7 separate regions of the Homo sapiens genome follow, and all the other regions are linked to region 7. Evidence: promoter capture Hi-C in 16 types of primary human blood cells and fetal thymus (Javierre and others, 2016). All regions are on one chromosome and are shown on one strand. Each heading gives the region's core, a stretch centred on a gene start or on the middle of the fragment in contact. The rest is flanking DNA. Distances are from core to core; before and after follow the strand shown. Region 1 overlaps PKNOX2 (PBX/knotted 1 homeobox 2). Region 2 overlaps PKNOX2 (PBX/knotted 1 homeobox 2). Region 3 overlaps PKNOX2 (PBX/knotted 1 homeobox 2). Region 4 overlaps PKNOX2 (PBX/knotted 1 homeobox 2). Region 5 overlaps CCDC15 (coiled-coil domain containing 15). Region 6 overlaps CCDC15 (coiled-coil domain containing 15). Region 7 holds the start of PKNOX2 (PBX/knotted 1 homeobox 2).

Region 1 (3,060 bases), core at 500-2,999, 210 kb after region 7:
ATAACCAATGCTAACAGCTGGCAGTGCTTGGCACACAGAAGGCTCTTGGTGAATGGTATCTACATTCATGAAGAAGGACTGCACCGGGTCTGTCCCCCTTACAAGAAGGAAGACAACCAGCAATTGGGCCTCCTGCTAGTGCAAATGACATGGGGTGGGGTGGGGTGGGGTGGGAGGAGAACAGAAAGCTGGGGCCATGAAGGTTCATATGGCCAGTGGCTTCTCACCGGGCCTGAGCTAAGCCAGCTTCCCTGTCTTTTAACCATAGTGCCACTTTCTGCTTTTCCCAGGCACTGATCCATTTCATGGTTGAGTGGGAAGAACCTGAACTGAAAATTTAGTCTGCATTCTGACTCTATCATCGGGCAAATCTTTAACTTCTTTAGATAAGCTTTCCTACCCCACAGGGTAGGCATCAAACGAGGAGAGGAGAGATCTGTAAAAATGTTAAGGCCTCTCCAAACACACACAAGTATTATTACAAGAGGAGGTTCTTTTGGAAACTCACCGGATAAAGCAGAGATTCTCTCATACAGCAACAGTCTCGTGGCTCCCAGGGTAATCCTGGCAGCTCAGTGCTTGGACCCCAGGATGTGTATGACTCAAGAACAGTAGAGAAAAGGGGGAAGGCAGATGAAGTGAGTTCAGTAACTGCTCACAAGTAGTACATGGGAGAGAGGGGAGAGCACACGATTTGGAGTTTGAATACCTGGATTTTAAATCTCAACTCAGTTACTGCATAGCCTGATGCGGTCATTTAACCACACAGCACATCTGTTTGCTAATGAGTGAAATGAGAATGAGAAGCCCGTTGGGGTATCAAAATGCAATAAGCACATATAAGAGCACTTTACAAAGTGCCACTGAGTGTGTGTGGGTGTGTGTTTAGTCCTTGACTGTGACCAAGACAACGTGGTTAGGGCTCACCTCCTCACAGCATCTCTTCCCCTTGAAGTTCTTTCTCTAGGGGGACTGGCTGAATTTCTGGTGACTTGGCTGGAATCACTGATCGCCTTTCACTAGCTGCCTAATTTCAGGAAGGACACTTGTCTTTTCTCTTTTGTTTATAACTTTTATTTTCAGTTCGGGGTGCAGGAGCAGGTTTGTTATATAGGTAAACTCGTGTCATGGGGTCTGTCGCACTTCTCTTTTCACTGCCAGAGTCACCTCGCCTTGTTCTGAAGGGGCTGGACGCGACATCCCCACCAGGTCTCATGTATCAGGCTCTTTGTATTTTTGCCCTCGCAGAGCAGTTTTAACTTTCACTGTGTTGAGATTTCACATAGATGCGTTTAATGTGCCGGGAGGAGTGTGTGCGTGCATGTGTCTGAAGGGAGGAGGGCTGAGTAGACTGCGACCTGCCCTGGGCCCCACACTTGCCGGGAATGGACCTGTCCACCCACCTGGGGGAGGAGAGCTGGGCTGGAGCCCAGGAGCTCTGACAGATGCAGCTCCAATTTAGCAACTCGAAGAAGTCCTCTCCAAGGCAACCCAGGCGAACACACCGCCCACTGGGCAGGACTAAAAATACACCCGCATGGTTTCAACGTCACACCTGAAGTAAAAATACATCCAACCAGGGGCCGCTGGCTCGCTCCCACCCCCCTCTGTTCTCTCCATCTGGTGCTTTCAAGGGGAGGAGAAGCAGAGGGCTGGACAAGCACCTTCCTCCCTACTCCCTCCCCTCCCTCTAAGACCTCACCACCCTCTCTGCAGGCAGCCCCCAGCAGAGCCCCAAAGAAGGCAGGTCCTTTCGTAGCAACTGTGACTAGAAGCTGCCAGATGGCAAAATCTGTTCCAAGTCCCCCTAGTATGGATGGATTCTGAGCCTGAAAGAACTTGAGGATTGTGTCTCAAAACCTTCATTCCAATAGTCATTGCTTACTCCACTCATTCATTCACTGATTCCCATTCACTGATTCGTCAAAAATGTATTGATCCTCTGCTGTGTGCCATATACTGTGCCTAACCCTTGGGAGTTCAGAGAGAGAGAAAATGTGGTCACCGACTGGAGGAGCCCACCATGCCATGAGGAAGACAGTCCTGTGCACAAACGACTGTGCTTAGTAGAGTTTAAGAAGTGTCATAAAATAAATAAAAATAAATTTCTATTGGCAGTCCTTTTTCGGTTAAAAGAAAACGAGGTTCGAAGTTCTGATAAATTGTAAGATGCCTCTCCCTCCTCTTTCTGGGCCTCTATTTGAATTGGCATGTGGGTTTGTTTTCCCAGCCAAATGAGTCAGTGGAGATGGGAATATAAATTTATTGGAGTAGATGGTGTCAGTGTTGCCCTGAATTTAAAAAGTGCCCACGCACCGTTCCAGGGAAATGGAGCAGGCATTAATTGATAGTTTACTAAGTGCCAGACACTCTCCATGTTTCTTCATTTAATTCTTACAGGAACCTGCATGGGAGGTGTTGTCCTTAATGAAAGAGGACACTGAGGCTCCAAAAATTCAGTAACTTACCCAAAGTGTAGCTTATTTCAGACCACCCAGCTTCCCACCCTAAATTGTGAGTGAGGTCAAGGAAGAAACCCCTAGCATTTGCTGTGAGGGCTCGGAGGAGGCGATGGTTTCTCTTGCTGGAGAGACCCATGAGGGGAGCCTGCACAGAAGGCATGTTGGCCTGGATGCTGAGGTCGTTGGAGGGGACATGAAGAGACACAGGAGCAGGGAATTCAGGTGGAAGGAGCAGCAGGAAGAAAGTCATGGGCACACGAGAGCAAAGGGCAAAGATGGGCACAGGAAGGCACAGAAGTTTGCTTTCCACGGGCTGCTGAAGGACAGTAGTGACCATTCCAGGGACCAGGGTCCGCCTGCCCTCTCCTTCCAGCCACCACCTTTCTCTGCTGAGTCCTTTTACAGGGTTGTCCAATCTTTTGGCTTCCTTGAGCCACATTGGAAGAAGAATTGGCTTGAGCCACACATAAAATACACTAATACTAACAATAGCTGATGAGCAAAAACAAACAAACAAAACAACAAAACAACAACAAAAACGCAAAAGAAAAAATCTCATAATGTTTTAAGAAAGTTTACGAATTTGCGTTGGGTCACA
Region 2 (3,156 bases), core at 201-2,700, 240 kb after region 7:
AGTCCTCAGCTGGAAGGATCTTTGCCAGGCCATCCCGTTCATTCCCCTGTTTCACAGGCATCCAAGTAAGATAAAAATTCCACCTATTTCAAAACAGCTTAAACAGAAACTTTTCTGTCATTTATCTCCTTCACTCCTTCATGTCTTTGTCCCATTCTGGTTTCTTCCAGGAATTCCTTCCTTGAGTGGAAATGAAGTCTTCCTTGAGTTTCCCAGGGCAGTTCAAGCCCTTTCCCTATTAAAAATGAAGCACGGTGGCTCACAGGGACAGACAGCTCTTCCTGGGCTGACGTGAGACCGCTGTGCATTCATGTGGGCCCCTGCACCCCCCACTTCCAAAAGTCATTCCACAGCTTCTCATCGTTTCTTAGTAAGGCCTTCCTTTGGAACAAGTCATCTTTCTGCTGTTCCAAATGCAATTTGGAGTAAAACTCCCCTGGGGACCACTGAGGTCTGTGAAGAATGAGTGGCAGTCGCAGTTCCAGGGTGTTGCAGCTGGCCCAGAGGATGGTGCTCGGGAGGCACCAGTTCTCTGCCATTCCAAACCCAAAGCCCTGCCTTGCTCTGCCCCTCCTGAGAGGCTCCTGCTTCTGAGTCTCAATCAACAGCACACAAGGAACAGGAGTGGGGCCGCTTCCAGGGGTGCCCATGGAGCCCGGCGTGTTGGTTTTCATCTGATTCCCAGGCCTCAGGCAGTTTCCAGAGGCTTGGGGACACCACGGCTGTCTTCCTAGTGGAACAAAACGAACAGAATTCTTGGGCTGGATAACCAGCTGTCATCCCCAGGTTCCTGGATAATTCCAGCAGGGATGTGAGGCTCTGGGTGCTGAAAAAAGTAACTAGAACCGTACCAAACACTCTTCTCACTTCCATCTGGGTGCTAAGGAGCCTAGAGGGGAGCAACTCTGTGTCTAGACACAGTGGCATCTACCTGGGTTTGGAGTCTGATAAGCCCTGAGGGGAAGCTGTCAAAAAGCTAATAATACTGTGTGCTTAGCCAACATGTGCTCCCCACGGGGTTTCCACCGCTGCTCTGGAAGTTCCTTCCTCAGAAAAGAGAGTCAGACCCTCCTTGTCTCCATTCCACGGCTCTAGAGACTAAGCCTGGACTGGAAATCGCAGCCAAGTGGAGTTGTGGGGCTAGTCAGAGACGATGCTTAGGATCCTGGGACTCGACCATTGCCCAGGAACATCTCAGACAGGGAGACATGTAGCCAGGTTTGCACAACTCTGCCTGCGTGCGCAACCCCAGCTGAACCCCTTCCATTGCTACGTAAAGAACTCAAGTGGCTTGAAGGCTTCTAGGACAGGTTTTTAAATCCCAACTGTACGACTCCCTAGTTGAGTGACCTTAGCCAAGGGAAGTGGGAAATAAATTATTGGATGGCTAAATGTGCCAGGCACTGTGCTTGCATTGGAGCCTGTCTGACCCCGAAGCACATATCCTCTCTCTGTGAGCACTCGTCCTACACTCAGAGCCAGAGGCCTTAGGCTGGAGGCACAGTTATTTGACTCTGGGAAGTCACTTCCATCCTCTCTGGACCTCAATCTCTCTTCAGGCAAATAGGACAGTCCTGCTGACCCCATGGGGTGATGGTGACATTAAAATGGAACAGCGTGGTGAAAGCTCTCTCATACTCAGCGTGTACGATCTTTGGGACCATCACAAGGAAGTTTTTAGAAATATAGATTGCTAGATGATGGGTGAGGGTCTTGACCCAGTGGCCCTGAGAATCTATGTCTAAAAAAAAAAAAAAAAAAAAAAAAAAAAAGCACACTCAAGGCAGGTTTGTGAAGCAGCTCATGTTTACAGATGTAAGGGATGAATATCATTTCCCCAGACCTCCGGGATGCCAAAATTTTGCTTCCTCTTCCCTGCCCCACCTAAAACGTTGCCAGTCCCAGCCCTGCCCTTGGACTCTATCTCTGAAGGTTTTTATTTTATTCCTTCACTGATAGAATCTGGCTGCCTCTCAGCACCTTCCAGCCAAAGACCCAGGGAAGGGAGAGAAGGGTAGGAAAGAGAAGGCTCTGATCCAATGCATAAATTGCCCTTAGTTACCCAAATTGGGTAAATTGGCATGGAGGGTATCCAAGCCACAAGGTGGAGAAGCAGCCAGGGTCTGAGTAAGCAGACGAAGCATCCAGGTGGTGGCTCACCCTCTGCCTTTGGCTAGGAAACAATGTGTGTTGGTTGAATCCCAAGGGACACATCTTGTATTTATTTTACTGACTTTGCTTGTATTTTTCTAACCTTGTTGGGTACTTTTTTGGGGGTGAAGAAAGTCTAGGACAACCTTTTATGTTTGAAATTCTCAAATATCCCTACCAGAAGAGGCACAGGCTAGCATGGATGATTCCAAACAAGGGATTGAGAAGTCACTTCCACTGGTTTTAAGGTGAATGGCATGGAGGTACCCACTCCCCCATTAAATTTACCTTCAAGCCTGGTGTGGTGGCTCACGCCTGTAATCCCATGACTCAGGAGGCTCAGGTGGGAGGATTACATGACCCCAGAAGTTTGAGACAAGCCTGGGCAACAGAGCAAGACTCTCTACCCTGTCTCAAAAAACAAACAAAAAAAAAAGTAAATTTACCTTCCGAGTTTGCTTCAGCTTCAAATATAATATCAGCACGGTTTACACACCATGAGAATGGTAGGCTGGGATGTTGGAACAAGGAGAACTCAAACTCAGAGCAGTCTCATCGCTGAAAACTCAGGCGTTGAGGGTCCCGGTGTCACATGCACTGTATACATAAGGAGATGAGGCCCACAGAAGGGTGGTGACGAGATTGCCTTTCCTCCAGTGCCCACGCTGCTTCTGGACTTCTGAGTTTTAGTTGTTTTTATCTGTTCACCTTGCCTGCAATGATGATTGGTTGACCTGCAGGATTCAAGGAGCATTTGCAGCCCAGAACCGGTGTAGGGGGCATTTGTGGGTGAAGGAGATCTGTGTTCTAGTCCTCTGGCTGCTAACGGGCTGTGTGGCCTTGGGAAGTCCCAGGCATCTCTAAACCTCAGTGCCTTATTTGTACTTCAGGGAGGGGAAATGTGTGGCTTCCAGGGGCTCTTCCAGTTTCTAGGCTTCTGCATGGCAGACTCCATTTTAGACTGCGACTGCAGGAACAGAAAGGCCAAGAGCTCTGCTCAAAGTA
Region 3 (3,487 bases), core at 676-3,175, 190 kb after region 7:
TCCCTCAGAGTGGGGAGAATGGTGTCTGGGACTCCAGGACATGGCACTCAGAGATCTGGGGTCAAGACAACATTGTCTCACTTACCCTGCAAGAGGAAGGCTAAGGCTGGGCCAGCCACACTGAGGAAGCCAGACCTGTCTCTCTGGGCACCTTCTTTCCCTCCCTGTCCTAGCACCATCCCCACTCCAGGTGGGGCCAGGGGAGGCAGATATCCTGGGGAAGCTGGATGGGCTTTGATCAGTCATTAGGATCCCCATGCTGGTTTAATTAACTGGAGGCAAAAGGGGGTGGCTGGGGCCCCTGGCTGTGAATGGCCTCCATCCAGGCCACACAGCTGTGACAGGCAGAAGTGGGTTCAGATGTTTTCACACTCGCTTTACATTCCTCTCATCTCTTTAAGGGCTGGAGCCCCCTGCCTTGCAGGGCCCTCTGCTCAGCTGCCTGTGAAACACATTTGCTTTGCAGCAATAGAGTTAATTCAGCAGCTTTGAAAGTTCCCCTAAGCCTTTTCTGTGATGGTGATTGATGGCTCCCTCTGCCCCTGGGGGCAACACCCCAGGGACCATATGAGGGCCCACCTTCCCTTGCTTCGACTCACCAAAACAGACTCTTCTCTTTCTTTTTTCTTTTCTGCTGGGCCTTTCTTCTCTTTGTGCACAGTGACCTCTCTCTCTGCCTGCTTGGGCCACCCATGTCTTTAAGCTGAACATATCCCTGAACTCCAACTTACTCAAGACCTGGACTCTTCATTGTGTAAAAGGCAAAAACAACCTCCAGGTCCAACCGTGGGGCCTTTATGCCCATGTAGGAGATGGTGGGCTGTCAGCATGGCTTTAAACTTGGGAAGAAACACTCTACTGGCCTGGTCTAGGTATTTTATTTGATGAACTTACTATATTCTGATATTTACCAAAAACAGAGATTTTATTGTCTACTCCCTTGTCCCCAAGCAGAACGAATGAATGCCCTAAACAGCTACAAAAATAATTAATGGCCCTGGGATACAAAGCCTAAAATAAATCAGGGGACAGGTGATCCAAGTCAGCAGCGGGTCTGGGGAGGACCTTACATGCTCTGCCTGCCTTTCGCACGCCGTTGGTCTTAGTTGGTCTTCAGAAAGCTTTGGTGTCTGTGCGGCCTGGCAGGAGGCAGGTGGGTGAGTTAGGGCCCCAGGATGCTTGCTGTTCTTGAAGTCTGTGGTCTGAAGAGGAGGATGGAATGACTCAATCTCGTAGAAATTCAGCAATCAGGACTTGTAATAAGAATTTGTATAATTATCAGCTCCACTGCTGATGAATTATACAAATTTAGGCAAGTAATTTCAGAGCTATTTCTTTCATCCACTTATCCATTCGATAAACATTGAGTGTGTCCTGTGGGCCATGCGGACATTGTGCTGTGTACTGGGGTGCAAAATCAACAGAGTTCCTGTCCTCTTGGAGCTTAGAGTCCATGTGGGGCCTTAGTTTCTGCATTCATAAAATGAGAATAACTCTGCCCTCCCTGTCTCACGAGGCTGTTGAGAGTGTGGGAACAAAAAGTACAGTGGTGTTCCTCAGCCCCTTTTCACCCTCACCCCAACTTCATTCTTCACTCGATCACCTGCACATCTCCAGCAGCCCAGATGGGATTTAACCTTAATTACTTTTTATTAGGAACATAATAGGCATGTCAAATAGGTTTTACCAGCTATGAACACCCCCTTACACACACGCACACACATAGATGTGCACACACAGGGATTCTGGTGTGCCCTCTGAAGGACCTATTGGAAATCACTGGTTTTGGACTATTACAAAAGGGAAGGATCTTCCAGAGGGAAGCGATGGGATGGGCAGGAGGCCATCAGTTCCCGGGAAAATGCACAAAGCTGGGAAGTGGAGTCCACAGCTTTCCTCTTCTTGGCCTCCTGTCAGTGACAGCCCAGGAAATGCAGTTAGGGGCAGTGAATGTTCCATGAGTCACATTGTGTAAACCACCACTTACAAACCCTTTTAAAATTAATTAACTAACTGAAACCCCCATTGTACACCACTGAGCAACTCTTCTATGGTCTGTTCTGTCCACTTGGCCTGGGATCAGAATAGAGGTGACCGAGGCCTGCTGTTCCAAGAGCCTCTTTGAGCTACACTGGGCTGTCCGGCTCTGATGCCGGCCCTTCCTCTCCCTGGGCTAACTGGGTTGGGGAATATTTTGAGGGGCCTTCTTTGGCCTCTCCCAGGATTTGGGATCCCTGAGGCCTTTAACACATCACTCAGTCATTGCCTCCTTCTGGTCATCCTTCAGTCATTTAACATGTGGGAGTACACTGCGGGCAGGCATGGGAGCTGGGAGACCAGCCCGCTCATGAGACAGGCAAAGGGCCTGGTGTTGCCGGTGTTGGGGTCCGTTCAGATGAGGCAGGAGTCCAGTCTTCTGCGGCCTGGGGAGGGAGGAGAAGCAGGAAAGGCTTCTTGGAAGAGTTGAAGCTGCAGCTGGGTGGGAGGCAGGTTGCAGGGGAGATGAGGACAGTCCCTGCTGAGGCAGCTGTGGGAGCAAAGGCAGGAAGGTAGACACCATCGGAAAGGCAGGAAGGTGGACACCATCGGAAAGGCAGGAAGGTGGACACCATCAGGTGCGCTCAGGCAACCAAGGGTAGGTGTGAGGCGATAGGGTAAGGGGAGGAGGGCTGTGCAGGTGACAAGGCTGCGGATCCGTGAGCAGCTTTCAGTAGCTTTGAAAGTTCCCCTAAGCTTTTTCTGTGACTGTTAGCGAAGGGTCCCTCTGCCCCAGGGGCAACACCCCAGGGACCATATGGGGACCCACCTTCCCTTGCTTTGACTCATCAAAACAGACTCTTCTCTTTCTTTTTTGTTTTCTGCTGGGCCTTTCTTCTCTTTGTGCACCTTGACCGCTCTCTCTGCCTGCTTGAGCCACCCATGTCTTTAAACTGGACATATCCCCATACTCCAACTCGCCTGAGCAGGCCCAGGTCTGGAGCGCCCTGGACTCTGTGCCCCCCAACAATGTTCATGTCCCCTGTTGCCTCCTACCTATTAAGGCCAGACTTGATGTTTACCAAGTGACCTCAAGCCCTGACCTCTTCCCGGGTCCTTGGCTTCTCTCCTGGTTGCCAGGAAACTGATCCCATACCTGGCTTGCCCCAAACTGGAGGGAGTACCAGCCCTGCCGGGCCCGCCTGAAGCCTCAGTGGCCCCTTGAGGGCTAGGCCTGGGCAGCCCCAGGGGGCCAGAACACAAGGTTTTGGCAGCCTAAGGGGGCCCTCCTGGGGCTGGCTGGCACCTACTCTGCCATGTCAGGTGGAGGGCTCAGAAGAGGGGATGTCCTCTTAGGAGTGTCTGTGCTTTTTTTATATTTTTAGTAGAGATGGAGGTTCTCCATGTTGGTCAGGCTGGTCTCGAACTCCCGACCTCAGGTGATCTGCCCGCCTCGGCCTCCCAAAGTGCTGGGATTACAGGCGTGAGCCACCATGCCCGGTGTAATCCC
Region 4 (3,177 bases), core at 528-3,027, 180 kb after region 7:
CCCAGACAGCTACGACACATTATCAGATTCCAATTATACATCGCCTTTGAGATGCAGTCTTCAGCCATACATTTCCATCATTTTGTGTTCTTTAATTTTGTTCCTTCTCCTCCTAATTGAACACACAGTCCAATGAGTCCACGATGAAGACTCAAGATTTGCCGCTTTCAGCTCGCTTAACGTTTTCCATCTTCGTCTCAGTCGTATTATGTTTATGAGACCCCTACTTCTTATCGCTGGGATCAGCACTTTCATTTTCCCATCTCCTGCTCATTTTTATAAAATAATAAGAGCAAAATGCAATGAAATATTTAACAAAATGTGTACACACACTGCTGTAGCAGGATGACAGGGCTGATGGAAGGAACTTCCCTACCGTGGGAAGGCACAGAGTGTGTGTCCATTAACTGATGTACAAAAGCCCAGGCTCGGCAACACAGAAGACATTTAGTGGTGTCAGTATAACATGATGCTTGGAAAATCAGGGCATAGGAAAGTCAAAGGACAGCCAGTATTCGAGGGCCCAACTCTAAACTGGCAGCTTGGTTTTATAATCAGCCTCACCTTTTCTGCACTTCTCCAGTTTCTAGGAGTCTCAGTCCTTCCCTGCTATTTCCTGCCCTCACCCTGAGACTTCCAGTTAAACCTGCAGACTCTGGGATCAGACTGTGTGTAACATCTGGAAACTTCCTCAAAGCCCCGGTTTGCTCACCCACGAATGGGAACAACCGTAATGCCGACACCATCTGGTTGTTAAGGAAAAGAGACCAGGTGACCCGTATCTACTGTTAGTGTCATGCCTGGGGCACAGGGACGGCTCAGTAAGTGGCAGTTGTTATTAATTCTATATTATCATCTCACCCACATCCAAATTGGCTCCAGAAACTAACCAACTTATTCTCACTGTTGTGTAAATGGCTGCTGGGACTCAAAGGGTTATGCTTCTTGGATTGGCTTGTTTTACATTTTAAGAGCAAGCCAGGCCAGGCGCGGTGGCTCACGCCCGTAATCCCAGCACTTTGGGAGGCCGAAGTGGGTGGATCACAAGGCCAGGAGTTTGAGACCAGCCTGGTCAACATGGTGAAACTCCATCTCTACTAAAAATACAAAAATTAGCCAGGCGTGGTGGCAGGCACCTGTAGTCCCAGATACTCCGGAGACTGAGGTGGGAGAATCGCTTGAACCCGGAAGGCAGAGGTTGCAGTGAGCCAAGATCACACCACTGCACTCCAGCCTGGGTGACAGAGTAAGACTCCATCTCAAAAAAAAAAAAAAAAAAAAAAAGTAAGCCGGCCAGGCACAGTGACTAATGTCTATAATCCCAGAACTTTGGAAGGCCGAGGCAGGCAGATCACATCAAGAGACCGAGACCAGCCTGGCCAGCATGGTGAAACCCCTCTTTACTAAAAATACAAAAATTAGCTGGGTGTGGTGGTGCACGCCTGTAGTCCCAGCTACTCGGGAGGCTGGGGCAGGAGAATCGCTTGAACCCGGGAGGCAGAGGTTGCAGTAAGCCGAGATCGTGCCACTGCACTGCACTCCAGCTTGGTGACAGAGCAAGATTCCGTCTCAAAAAAAAAAAAAGGAAAGAAAAAAAGGAGTTAAGCCAAAGAAATTAAACTATAACCATGTATATATATTGAGGCTCCATAAGGAGGTAGACTTTGTGCAGTCATATTGTATAGGCTGCCCCTTCTCCCCCAGTGAACATGCAAGGCAGAGCCATGATCTTGTCTGCTGGGGGGAACAGGGGCCAGTGGGCAAGATGGGACATGCGGGTGAGGAGCAGATTTTCCATAACACAGAAACATGCATGATGATTATTCCCGCCTTGATTTCCCACGTGTAGTCCTGGAGTGGAAGGGGAAGAAAGGCTTCATGGAACAGTAGGCTTTGGAGCCAAGTGTTGATGAAGGGAACGGCATGGCTGTGAAATACAGAACACCTTGGTAGCGGACAAGAAACACAGCAAAAGGCACGAGAGCATCTTAGGTTGGGCGACGGAGGGAGTATCTGCTGGGGTGCGAGTCTGTGTGGCCGCGCCACGTCCTCTCGCATCATGGCTGTCATCTTCCCTTCCCCAGGGCTGGCTTTCCTGAAGCTCAGGAACACAGAGCCAGTGTACCCGCCCTCCTTCCAAGGGGGTGGTGAGGACCAAGGGTGGGGCAGCCTGGCTGGGCAGCCTTTCCTCCTCTAGCCGATCCCATTGCCATGGGCTCTATTTAGAGCTCTTGTTTCTTGTGAGCTCTGCCTGGGCCACCAGGAAGGTGCAGGAAGGGCACACGTTGGCTGGGTATGAGCGTCTCAGGAACTAGTGGCTTTTCAATGATAAATTGAATGCACAGAGCCACTTGCTTCCACAACTCTGACTCTTGACTTTTTTTTTTTTTTCCTAAAGGCAAGTTTTAAAATTTGGAACAAGGTATCATCTAGCCAGAGGACACAGTACAGTCCTCAGAGAGAAAAGGGGCCTGGCTGACCCTTTTAGCTCCGCTGGCTCCAGGAGAATCTGAGGTTGCACCAGAGGTGGAATGCGTAGGCTTCAGGGTCCCTCGCCTCCATGCCCTCCTTCCCCCACCAGCCCCTGCTCCGGCCACCCTACTCACACCTTACATGGTCCCCATGCCTGCTTTCCTCCTCCCCCCAGCTCCCAGTGAGCGTCAGGGCCCTCCTGACTGCCTCAGAGAAGAGAGACTTATGAAAGGGTGGGAGCCCGAGAGGGCTGCCGGAGGTGGCTCTGCGCTTTTCCACCTGGGATCCCAGCGCTGGAGCTGTTTGTCTGTCTCTGTTGAGTTGTGGGTCTCAGGGGCCCGGCCTGTGTTGTTTTCTCAGCTCAGTGCCTGAGCGGCTGCTGTCAGCTCTTGACAAATAATAATAAACCTGGGAATCAGGTTTGTCGAGGGGGACTTCAGTCCCAGGTTCATTTTCAGATCTGTTTCTCTGTGAGTGTGTGCAGACGAGAGAGCACATGATAGTGTCTCTGGGGGAGGGGCGGGCCGGGGCTCCCAGGTGCCCTGACACTCCACCCTAGCCACCACCGTGGAGGAGCTGGAGGGCTCTCCACTGTCCCGATCCCTGGAGCTGCTTGCATGTTGAAAAAAAAAAGGAAAATAATTGAATAAAAGGCCTCAAGCTCTCTTCTTTCCCTGGGCCTCCCCACCTCTCCCACTCTTGTTG
Region 5 (3,402 bases), core at 682-3,181, 210 kb before region 7:
AGCTTTAGCATATCTAGTCTGGGTATCCACCCTTATTAACGGATATAGCTCTGTCAGCTCAAAATAAATGCTGAATAGTTACTTCTAAAGCTTGGCCCTTAGATCATGTCTGTTCTAAAGGGGAACTTCTACTCATTTTTCTCCCCAAAATTTCAGGGGGCCATCAGGATTCCTAAAAATGTCATAGCTTTAGACTACCTCCCCCCAATAATTATTAATAAATTAGCATCAAAAGACACTGCTGTTCTATCATCATATATGGGATTGCATTATTTTATAATTTGTTCTGGTTACCTTTTGCTGTGTAACCAACCACCCCAGAACTTAGTGGTATAAAGCAAATAATACTATGTAACAGGAATTTGAGCAGGGTACAGTGGTAATGGCTTGTTTCTGCCCCATAGTGTCTGGGACCTCAGCTGGGGCTCAAATAACTGGACATGTCTGAGACACCTTGACTATTTTCCGGCTATTGGCTGGAGCTAGACAATAGTCAAGTTCTCCCAGTAATGTGGCACCTGCTGGGCTGTAATGTCCAAGATGGCTTTCTTATTCACATATCTGACGCTTGGCCTAGGATGACTAGAATGTCTGGGTGCTGGTTAGATATGTTTCTCTTTTCACATGGCTTCTCTGTTTGACTAACTTGGGCTTCCTCACAGCATGGTAATCTCAGGGTAGTCTGAATTTTTATATGGTGCTGACTTCCTTCAGAATGAGCACTCTAAGAACAGAGGTGGAAGTTTCTTTATGACCTGGCTTGTAATCTTGTGGAGTAAAAGAGGAGCAGAGAAAATGGAGGTAAAAGAAAGAGGCCGAATGGCTTAAACTTGTCTGGGGCTTGAGTTAAGCTGGGTCAGTTGTTCAGGCTTCATTACGTATATATCTCTCCGTTGGAATTATTTTACCTAATTGTTCTTTGACACTTGTACACTCCACTAGAGTAGTTTATGGGATAGACATCTTGGAAATTTTAACTTAAATTGAAATTTGAATGCATTTGATTTTGAGAATTTAATGACAGCCTGTAAAATGATCTGAGGTACCCTTCAGAATTAGAAGTTGGAATCACTGAGTTAGAAGGAATAGGTACGAGATATGATGATGATTTTATTTAATTTGAAAATTCCTAGTGAAAGAGAGACATAGTCAAGAGAAAAGCAGTGTAGAGAGGAACATAATTGTTGGAGTCAGAAACTTCTAATTCTGCTACTAGTTAGCTATATTAAAATTACTTAATCTTTCTGAACTCCAGCTTCCTCATCTGTAACATAAGGGATAAGAATACCTACTGCCAAAGGTGGTTTTGAGGATAGAGTGCTACAAAGTAGTTAAAATACTTGTCACCTGATAGATCCATAATAATGATAAGTGCTGTTATGATGATGACTATGATTATTATTCAAAGCACTTAGAGGAGATAAATGCAGATCAAGAACTCAAATGGGATAAAGTGTTCCAGATTGTTCAGAACAAGCTTGTCCAACATGCGGCCATGGGCCACATGTGGCCCAGGATGGCTTTGAATGCGACCCAATGTAAATTAATAAATTTTCTTAATTAACACTATGAGTTTTTTTGTGATTTTTTTTTTTCTCATCAGCTACTAGTGTTAATGTATTTTATGTGACAGTTCTTCCAACATGGCCCAGGGAAGCCAAAATATTGGACACCCCTGGTTTAGAATATGTTTTGGAATTGAGCAATTATATAAATATATATTGACTACCCTTATAGTGAAGGCTCTGTACTAGATGCCGTAGGGGAAATAAAGGAGAATTGAATACATATCCTGTCCTCAAAGAGTTCATAATCTAGTAGGGGAGTCAAGAAGTACTATACTCAGTTAACATTGGTGAAATGAGAGGTGTTATAGCATAAGAGGGCTTAGAGAGAGAGTGTTGTGGAAGGTACTGGGGAGTGGGTATTAAATGGTTGTGAAAACTGAATAGGCCTTTACTAGGTGGAGATGAAAGGAAGGGCATGCCAGGTTAAAAATGGAGCATAATGCCAAATATGAAGACATTTTAACAATAGGACATATTTGGTGAGTGGTAAGTAACCTGGTGTGTCTTGACTATTTACTCCATTTTAGAAAATGTGTAACGTGTTAGGTTTTATTTGGTTCATTAAGATTTAATGAAGACATCGTTAGTTCTAATTCAATAAAAAATTTAAGATTTGATACTCATACATTCCATTTTTTTTTGTACAGAATGGAATTATTTTTTTCAGGATTGTATCCTTATCCTGACTGTTTTGTGTTTAAAACAGCCCTAATGGACAAAACTGCTAACATTTAAGTTCATTTTCTGTCTTTCATCTTTAAAGACATCAGCATATTTAATTGAAGAAGAACTAAAGGAACAGCTAAGAAAAAAACAAGAAGCTTTGAAACATTTTCAGAAACAAGTTAAATACCGAGTAAATCAACAAATTAGGTTGAGAAAAAAGCAACAGCTTCAGAAGTCTTATGAAAGAGTAAGTTCAAAAGTGAGCCTGAGTAAAGATTGAATGGAAAATATGTGTGTTATGAGATAAGCTATTAGGCAGTAACAGAATTGCTTTCCTTTGATTACATGCCTAATATAATCTAATTAACTAGTGAAGACAGTAAATTTTTTTTGTAGAGAAACCATGTTTTATTCCTGTGTTCTGACTCAATTTTTTGCTTTTACCAAGTAGTTAAAAGCAATGTCAGAATTTTGGGTTCAGACTTGAGTTTGAATTTTGGCTTTGCTACTTCTAGCTATTGACTTTTGGCTAATTACTTAACTTCACTGATTGTAGTTTCTTCATCCATAAAATAAGGATATGATACTTCTCTCATAGGATTGTGTGAGAGTTAGATGAGATAACCTAAATTATTAGCACATGGGAGGTGCCTGGTAAATGTTAGTTTCTCTGCCAGCTAAAGCCTCTCCCCTGCCCCCCACCCCAATTTAAAATCTTCTGAACTGCTTTAGAGGCATTATTTGATTGCTCTGGATTGGGGTAGAATGTTACTATCCCCCTTTCTTCTTTCGTGTAGGCACAAAAAGAAGGCTCCATAGCCATGCAGTCTTCAGCAACACACTTAACTTCCAAAAGGACAAGTGTTTTTCCAAACAATTTGAATGTTGCTATTGGAAGTTCTAGGTTACCTCCTTCCCTGATGCCTGGGGATGGAATAGAGGATGAAGAGAATCAGAACGAATTATTCCAACAACAAGCCCAGGCTGTAAGTACCTGTTCTTTTTATTTTATGTCTATGATATTTTCCCTATCCCCTAAACTATAAATATGACATCTAGGGTATGAGGTAGGGATTAAGAGTTATCACACTCAGCTTCACTTTTGATAATCATCCCCCTTTTTTTTTTTTTTTAGCTTTGTAAAGTGGGGAATAGTGGGATAATGCTT
Region 6 (3,510 bases), core at 545-3,044, 190 kb before region 7:
AAAAATGATATATGTTTTATTTGTTTCCCTAATGAGATATTCTTTGCAAATTTGTGAGATATAAAATAGGCTGTGCTTCTCTGAAAAAGAAATCAAAATAGCCGCATACTGAAATTTCTGGAGATAAGGAATGAACACGAAATCAACATTTAATATTAGTAGTCATTTATTAGGTGTTACTTAAAGTAGTTGAAACAAATTGGTTCTTTTGAAATGTTTGAATTTGTGTTCTAAGTTAATTTAGGAAGGCTTCTTGGAGGAAGAGGAAGGGAGATTCAAGAAAAGACTTTAAGTAGCTATGGTCTTCAAATGTTGAGGGTGGTGAAAGGAGTCATGTAAATTGGGGATAAAAGGGCTTTAAGGAAACTAGGAATAGAGTCCTAGCAAGCAGTGATGAAAGCAATTAAGCATATATGGAGCACTTGAAGAAATAACTCCTTATTGACAAAGGTGGATAGAAGGTAAGGAATGTGTCTGGTCAGTGATCTCCAAGTGTATTAATTCAGACTTTAGGTTTTCATATTTTTGTGTACATGCTTTATATAAAGTATACATTATTTCTTAAAAAACAGTTTGAGTAACCGCCCTTAAACCAAGTTACAAAGTACAATCTCTAGAATAATGACAATAATGTTGTACCACACTATCAGCACATCAAAGTCTCCTTTGCAAGTAATCCTGTTGTCTTAGATCTGGCATTTTTTAATAATAGGGACCTGTTTTCCTGTTGGAACACTTAGTGCATTTGGAATTAAAACTTATCCTGCTTTTGTTTGCTTTCTTCCCCCTTTCCCTGGCAGCTTAGTGAAACTATGAAACAGGCACGTCACCGGCTAGCATCCTTTAAAACCGTGATTAAAAAAAAGGGATCAGTGTTTCCAGATGATGGAAGGAAAAGCTTTCTTACCAGAGAGGTAAATTAATTTCTAATACATGATTTAAAAAAATACAGGTAAAAAATACAGATAAAGATTTACTTATATCTCAGCATAATTTAGAACTGTAAAATAATTGGAAATAGCCTTAAATACCCAATAGTAGGGGATGCTTGAGTAAATTGTGACATATCCATATGCAGCCATTCTAAAAAATATTTTCAAAGAATATCTGAAGATAAGGGAAAGTGTCTGTGATATAAAGTTAAGAAAAAAGTTGGATATGAAATTAAGTATGATATGATCTTAATTAAAATATATGTATATGTATTCAACAAATACTTATGGAATGTCTGTGATTGCCAGCATTGTTCTAGAAACAGGACTTATAGTGGTGAAAAGACAGACAAAGATCCCTCAAGGAGCTTCTGTGCTAGTTGGGAAGCATATAATAAACAAGCAAATAAATATAGAATATAATTTCAAGTGATAAGTGCTATGAAGAGAAATACAGCAAAATAAAAAGATGGAAAGAGTTCCATGTGCATAGACAAAAGCCTAGGTACAAATGGCACAAGAGGCTAATACTGATTATTTCTGGGTAGTAGTATTACAGGTGATTTTCTTCTGTTTTTTATTTTTAAAAATTGTCATAAAGTATGTCACTTTCTAATCAGGAAAAAATTGAAACTATTAATTTTTAAAAAGAAAAATTCTTTTGATTCAAAACTTAAGTGAGTGTGGAGCTAGGCTTAGGAGGATATGTAAGTCTATACTTATAAAATGACATTGTTTTGGTGCCTACCTCAGAATTCACAAATTTGGATCCTAAATTTATGTGTTTTCCTGTGTGTACTTAATTTTGGCATTAATGTTTTATAGGCAGCATCTAGTAAAATAGACCATTAATTTATTTTTTAATAAATTATGTTTTTTTGCCAATAAATATGTTATTTTTTTGCCATCATCAACTGCCTCATTTAGTTCTTTCCCAGTTTTACTTCCTAATTAGTATACTCTTATATTTTCCTGGAATATGCATATAATATATATAATATATAAATATATAGATATATAATTTTGTATTTTTTTCCATATCTTGACCCAACCATTAAAAATGTTTGTCTCATATATGTTGGCAATTGGTTGAATACTAAACTGTAATGTTTTTCTCTTTAATTACAACTAAGAAATTTATAGTTAAATTTAAAAAACAAGTGGGCGTGGATATGTGTCCATGTATGGCAACACATCCCACGTGCGTTTATATGGTTGTCTTTTTCTAGCATTGCCTTGTGGCTCCTCAGAGTTTCTTTTGTACCTAAATTATTTTCAGATGTTGGTTTCTTGACAGTTTTCATACCTATCGTGGTTTGGTAGTACTATAGTTTGGGCCATTAGACTGACTCCAGGGTACTGTTAGATGAGGTGATTAGACACTTTCTACTAAATCAGAAAAAAAAACACAGTTATCAGATCTTAGAGATGGATATTTATATTGCTTGGAACATGCTCAGACCTTTCAACTGGTGTTTTTCCAGAAAGTGTACTATTCACAGTTCTGATTGAAATAATTATCCAATAGACGGGAGGATTAAGTCTGAGATAACATCTTTGTATAAACCAGTTTTTTACGTCAGAGGTGCCATTTAAGTGTAATTCATTATTGTTATGGTGATAATGATGAATTCAGGCTACCTACTTGCTTCCAAAGAAAGCATATATGTTTTTCAGGTAAAAATATGAAAAACAAATCTACTCAATACAATTGGGAATGATCTAAGAAATTGGTGAAATTTTTCTTATTACTTGTATCAAGCTTTCCCTCAAATCTCAACAATTTTCTACCTTCTTAGTTGTGTGAAGTGGGAATTTGCAAATCAGAAAGAACAATCTATGATTGAGTTGAACCCTGGTTTTATTTCATTATTAGTCTTTAGTGACATTAGAATCTGTCTGGTTGTTATTGATCCGGATTTGGAGATACAAGTGGAACACATACTTGCTTGTACTCTGGCAGGTTGCCAAGACTAAAATCATGAGTCTTCTGAAATTGTTACTGGCTAGAATAGGTGCAAGTTGTCATTTATAAAGTTAATATATTCTCCTGTTTTATTCCATATGGTTTTATATGTGAGCGCTTTGTTTGTACATATGAAGTAGAACTCATGTTTTTTCCCTTTACTGTGTATTAGACTACCAAAACCTACTAAGATAATTTTAGATCTTTCACAGAAACTCAACTTAGTCTCATGAATATGTTGCTTCCTCTAGACCTATTTATATTTGTAGTAATTTTTTTTCCAGGAAGTGCTTTCCAGGAAACCAGCATCCACTGGGATAAATACAGGAATAAGAGGAGAGTTGCCCATTAAGGTCCATCAAGGTCTTTTAGCTGCTGTACCTTACCAGAATTATATGGAAAATCAGGTAGGGAAATATAAAAAGTAGAGGGGAAAGACATTGGCTTATTAGAAGTATCCACAGCTAACTAAGGATGGGATAAAGGGTTAAGATATCCAGTATTTTTTTTAACGGACTTTATTGAGATATAATTCATATACCATACAATTCACCCATTTAAAGTGTACAATTCATTGGTTTTTAGTACTCACAGTTTGCACAGGGTTGTGCA
Region 7 (3,441 bases), core at 387-2,886:
CAATGTATAATATATAATAGCGATTATGCTGTCAGCAGCCAGAGACTCTGACTGCAGATCAGAGGCTAGGGTGACATAAATCCACCTAGTGAAGTTTTTGAAGGTTCTATGTGAAGGTGAGAGGATTCTAATCTGTCTATAATGGGGGCTACCACTGAAGAGTTTCTCCCACAAGCAACGTTGGTGGGTGGATTTGAGGGTATTGGGAGGATCTGGACAAACAGTAGTGTGTGTATCTGGGATGTGATATAAGAAGGGTCTCAATTGCCTCCCCTGAGCCAGGCAATGCTAACAGCTCTCATCCTTGCCCATGACGGAGGCGGGTGAGTGGCGACCCAGAGGCCTGAGAAGAGCTCAGGGGCAGCCTTCAACTTCTTGGGTCAGATTCTTTACTGAAAACCCAGAGGCTGGGTTTCACTTTCTGCTTTCCCGCTTTTGTCGGTGTCTTTGTCTGGGCTTCTTCCAGGCCCCCTGCCTGGCCTGGGGTCAGAGGATCAATGGCTGCCTGACTGGCTGAAAGGGCTCCTCTATGGGGAGCAAGAAGCAAACTTCCAGAGGCAGAAGGGGTTCTCTTGTCCCTTTATGCGGAGGGCCATGTGCTAAGTTGAGGAAGCAAGCAAGTGTGCTCCTGTGTGTGGCTCTTAGTAGGACTGTGATCTCTGCTGAGTGAATGGAGGCGCTTGTGGGTCTACACATGCCTGCTTTTGTCTTCCACTGTAGAGGGCATGTAAGGAGCCCATTTCCTCCCTGATGTAGATGAAGCCACCCCAGCAGGCCCAGGCTGAAACAGCCCAGCTGGTCTTTCCCTTTATATGACTGCACCCCAGCCCCCAGAACTCTGGGAACTCACTGAGTTTCTTGAGGACTTTTTATTAGAATGAAAATAGCAGTGGCTTAGAACAGGCTTGCCTGACATTTGCAAAGAAGTGCTTTACTGACAAAGCCTATCCACTCTTTCCTCTCTCCCTCTGCCCCACCTTGAACCAGACACCCCGGGAAGCCCACAGCAGAAAAAGCTCTTGAGACCAGGAATAACTAACCAGAGTGTCATCTGAACACCTTTTCTGGGGCCAGGGTAATGAGAATTATTCAAATGCAATCATAAAAATGAGGCCAGCCAGGCAGGAAAAGGGGGAGGGGGAGTGCTGGTGGAAGGAAGGATTTCTTGCCCGTTTTAAGTTTCATCATTTCTGGGGAGTTCTCTTGGGGTCCACAGAAAATCTCACCTCATCTCGGTCCCCTCAGCACCGGTGATATCTTGGAACTCGGCCCCGGTTGTTCGCTAAGGAGGACTTGGCTTGGGGGCGGGAGGGTGCTCCAGAGTTCCTGGGGGTCCACCGCACTCCCCATCCGAGGCTCCTCGCGAGCGGAGCCGCTTCTCCAGGCCGCCCGCCTCCCTGCCGCAGGAGCAGGCCCGCGCCCGCCGCCCGAGAGCCTCCGGTAGAGGGAGACACTCCAGCGGCTCCTCCGACTTGGCAGCGGCCGGGCCGGGAGTGGGTGGGGGTGATGGGGGGTGGGGAGAAAAGGGGGAGTGGGGAGAGGGGAGGTGTGTGAAGGGGGGGTCCGGGGGGCGGGTCCCTGTGCCGCTGACGTCCCGAGCAGTGCTGGGAAGTATAGGCTGTGTTGTCACGCCGGTGTCAGTCTGATGAAGATTGGCATCAGGTAAGCTGTCATTCATTTCCATGTCAGAGACGCTTTTGCAGGCGGCGGCGGCGGCGCGGCGGCGGCTGCTGCTGCGGGCGGCTGCCTCAGAGCGCGTGTGTTTTATTCCAGTCCCCAAGCCAGAGTATTATTCATTGCGACAGGGCAAGGAGGAGAGAGGGAGAGAGGGAGGCAGCAGGGAGGAGAGAGAGGGAGGCAGCAGGGAGGAGGGAGGCAGGGAGCAGCGAGGGACGGCGGGAGCGTGCAGAGAGAAGCTGGGGAAGCGCCGGGAGAGCGCGGAGCGGAGCAGCGCGAGGGGCGGCGAGGCCGGGCACGGAGGCTGCGAGAGCCCCGCGGGCCGCCCGCTCCCCTGCCCGGCCAGCGCTCAGCCCCGCCGCCGCCGCCGCCGCCGCCTCGCCGCGCTTGGGCCCGTGGCCGGCCGCGCATTGTCCTCGGGTGCAAGGAGCCGGGCTGCGGACTCGAATCGCCGCGGGCCCAACCCCGTAGCGGGCGGGCGGGGAGCTGTGCGCCAGGAGCGCCAGGGGACCCGAGAATAGGAACAGGCACGCCGGCCCGAGCCCGGGTGCAGAAGGCTCCCGGCCGGGCGCTCCGCGGGGAGAGGCTGGGAACCGCGGGCAGGCTCCAGGTTCTCTTTCTCCCGGCTTCGGGCGTCCTTGGGGCCGGCGCTTACTCCGCGCCACCAGCCTGGAGATGCTTTCCAGCGGCTGGAGGCGGGAGCGGTCCCAGGCTGGGGCCAGGTGACCGGAGGAGTCGAGGAGCCGCGGCCGCGGCCTGGGGAGGCAGGGCGAATGAGGGTTTGCAGACGGATCAGTGGAGACAGGGGAACACCGGCGGGGCCCGGGAAGCCAGGATCCGAGGGGCTACACGCACGGACCCTCACCCAGGGAGGAGCGAGAATGTGTAGGGTCACCGGCTTTCCATGATTGCTGGGGATCTTTGGTGAGGCGGGCGTAGGGGCCCGCGCGAGGCTTGGGAATCGGGAGCCCTTCTGGCTCGAGAACTAGGGGATGAGTTCGTAAAAGAGGGAACTGAAAGCGATCGAGAGCGGAGAGCTGAGGGGGATGGCGCAGGATCCCGAATCTGCCGCTCAAAGTTTGCATTTCTTTCGGGTTAGGAGACGGGCTTTCCTGGCTCCCGATCCCCAGGAAGAAACGAGCGAAATGGGCCGTCCTTTCCCGGGGCTCTTCACGGGGGAGCCGGGGGTTTCCGCGCGGTGGGGAGACTCGGGTTGGGAATTGAGGGGTAGGGGCTTGTGGATCGGCCTGAATTAGGGCTGGGTTTTAGGACCAGTCTAGAGTTCGGTTTATAGGATCCAGACTGTTTACGGAATCGGGATCGAGGGGCCGATAAGTAGTTTACACGCCGGCCAGAGCAGAGGGCTGGAGGTCGGAGTTGGGGGCTGGAGGAACGGGTGGCGTTTTTAGGATTCAGTAACAGGATCACAGCTTTTTCTTGTGGTGGAAGCTATTGGAATTTGGGGAGGGTAGCACGAGGGGTCCTGCAGCTCCGCGTGTGAAAAAGCGTTTAGGTAGGCGATGAAAGTAGTTGATCTGAGCCATGGCAGGCGAGCCCCGAATTTTTGCTGCTTCCCCCTGAAAGTGTTTCTTTAGGAGGAGAGGACTTGGGCCACACAGGACCCGGTCCTAAGAGAGCGATTCCGGGAAGCGGACAGATCGAAGAGACCTTCTGGGCGAAGCGGCAGGGCAGCCTCGCGGGGCTGGGAGTGGATCTGAGGTCCCGACCCAGGCGGCTCGGAGTGCTCCAGGAGCCACCTGGGTC

Evidence for each region. Contacts are between HindIII fragments. The CHiCAGO score rates a contact against its expected background, and 5 or more counts as called.
Region 1: a contact is called between a fragment that was not itself captured here and the fragment with the promoter of PKNOX2 in region 7, in 2 of 17 cell types (endothelial precursors and M2 macrophages). The highest score is 6.6, in endothelial precursors.
Region 2: a fragment that was not itself captured here is called in contact with the fragment with the promoter of PKNOX2 in region 7 in 1 of 17 cell types (endothelial precursors); the score reaches 5.7 in endothelial precursors.
Region 3: a contact is called between a fragment that was not itself captured here and the fragment with the promoter of PKNOX2 in region 7, in 1 of 17 cell types (endothelial precursors). The highest score is 5.9, in endothelial precursors.
Region 4: a contact is called between a fragment that was not itself captured here and the fragment with the promoter of PKNOX2 in region 7, in 3 of 17 cell types (endothelial precursors, M2 macrophages and M0 macrophages). The highest score is 10.6, in endothelial precursors.
Region 5: a contact is called between a fragment that was not itself captured here and the fragment with the promoter of PKNOX2 in region 7, in 12 of 17 cell types (monocytes, naive B cells, total B cells and 9 more). The highest score is 10.2, in monocytes.
Region 6: a fragment that was not itself captured here is called in contact with the fragment with the promoter of PKNOX2 in region 7 in 6 of 17 cell types (monocytes, endothelial precursors, M2 macrophages and 3 more); the score reaches 7.2 in monocytes.

What each region holds. Positions count from the first base shown.
Region 1 is chr11:125,374,785-125,377,844 of GRCh38, forward strand. The region is part of intron 5 of PKNOX2 (PBX/knotted 1 homeobox 2); the gene reads left to right. Among named protein-coding and RNA genes, the nearest start is that of PKNOX2-AS1, 110 kb to the left of the region's middle. The HindIII fragment of the contact is 2,720 bases long and covers 390-3,060 here.
Region 2 is chr11:125,405,175-125,408,330 of GRCh38, forward strand. The region is part of intron 7 of PKNOX2 (PBX/knotted 1 homeobox 2); the gene reads left to right. Among named protein-coding and RNA genes, the nearest start is that of FEZ1, 90 kb to the right of the region's middle. The HindIII fragment of the contact is 3,415 bases long and covers 1-3,156 here.
Region 3 is chr11:125,356,544-125,360,030 of GRCh38, forward strand. All of the region lies in intron 4 of PKNOX2 (PBX/knotted 1 homeobox 2), which reads left to right. Among named protein-coding and RNA genes, the nearest start is that of PKNOX2-AS1, 91 kb to the left of the region's middle. The HindIII fragment of the contact is 1,612 bases long and covers 1,120-2,731 here.
Region 4 is chr11:125,339,789-125,342,965 of GRCh38, forward strand. The region is part of intron 3 of PKNOX2 (PBX/knotted 1 homeobox 2); the gene reads left to right. Among named protein-coding and RNA genes, the nearest start is that of PKNOX2-AS1, 75 kb to the left of the region's middle. RefSeq lists an enhancer at 1,561-2,310. The HindIII fragment of the contact is 5,222 bases long and covers 1-3,177 here.
Region 5 is chr11:124,956,784-124,960,185 of GRCh38, forward strand. CCDC15 (coiled-coil domain containing 15) reads left to right here. Exons shown (of 16, transcript NM_025004.3): 3 at 2,332-2,481; 4 at 3,032-3,220. Among named protein-coding and RNA genes, the nearest start is that of CCDC15, 4.3 kb to the left of the region's middle. The HindIII fragment of the contact is 912 bases long and covers 1,476-2,387 here.
Region 6 is chr11:124,974,296-124,977,805 of GRCh38, forward strand. It overlaps CCDC15 (coiled-coil domain containing 15), which reads left to right. Exons shown (of 16, transcript NM_025004.3): 5 at 801-914; 6 at 3,183-3,305. Among named protein-coding and RNA genes, the nearest start is that of CCDC15, 22 kb to the left of the region's middle. RefSeq lists a silencer at 2,724-2,924. The HindIII fragment of the contact is 1,796 bases long and covers 897-2,692 here.
Region 7 is chr11:125,163,115-125,166,555 of GRCh38, forward strand. It overlaps PKNOX2 (PBX/knotted 1 homeobox 2), which reads left to right and starts at 1,637. Exons shown (of 13, transcript NM_001382323.2): 1 at 1,637-1,662. It overlaps PKNOX2-DT (PKNOX2 divergent transcript), which reads right to left and starts at 1,495. Exons shown (of 3, transcript NR_125759.1): 1 at 1,227-1,495. RefSeq lists a silencer at 1,350-1,499. The HindIII fragment of the contact is 6,114 bases long and covers 1-3,441 here.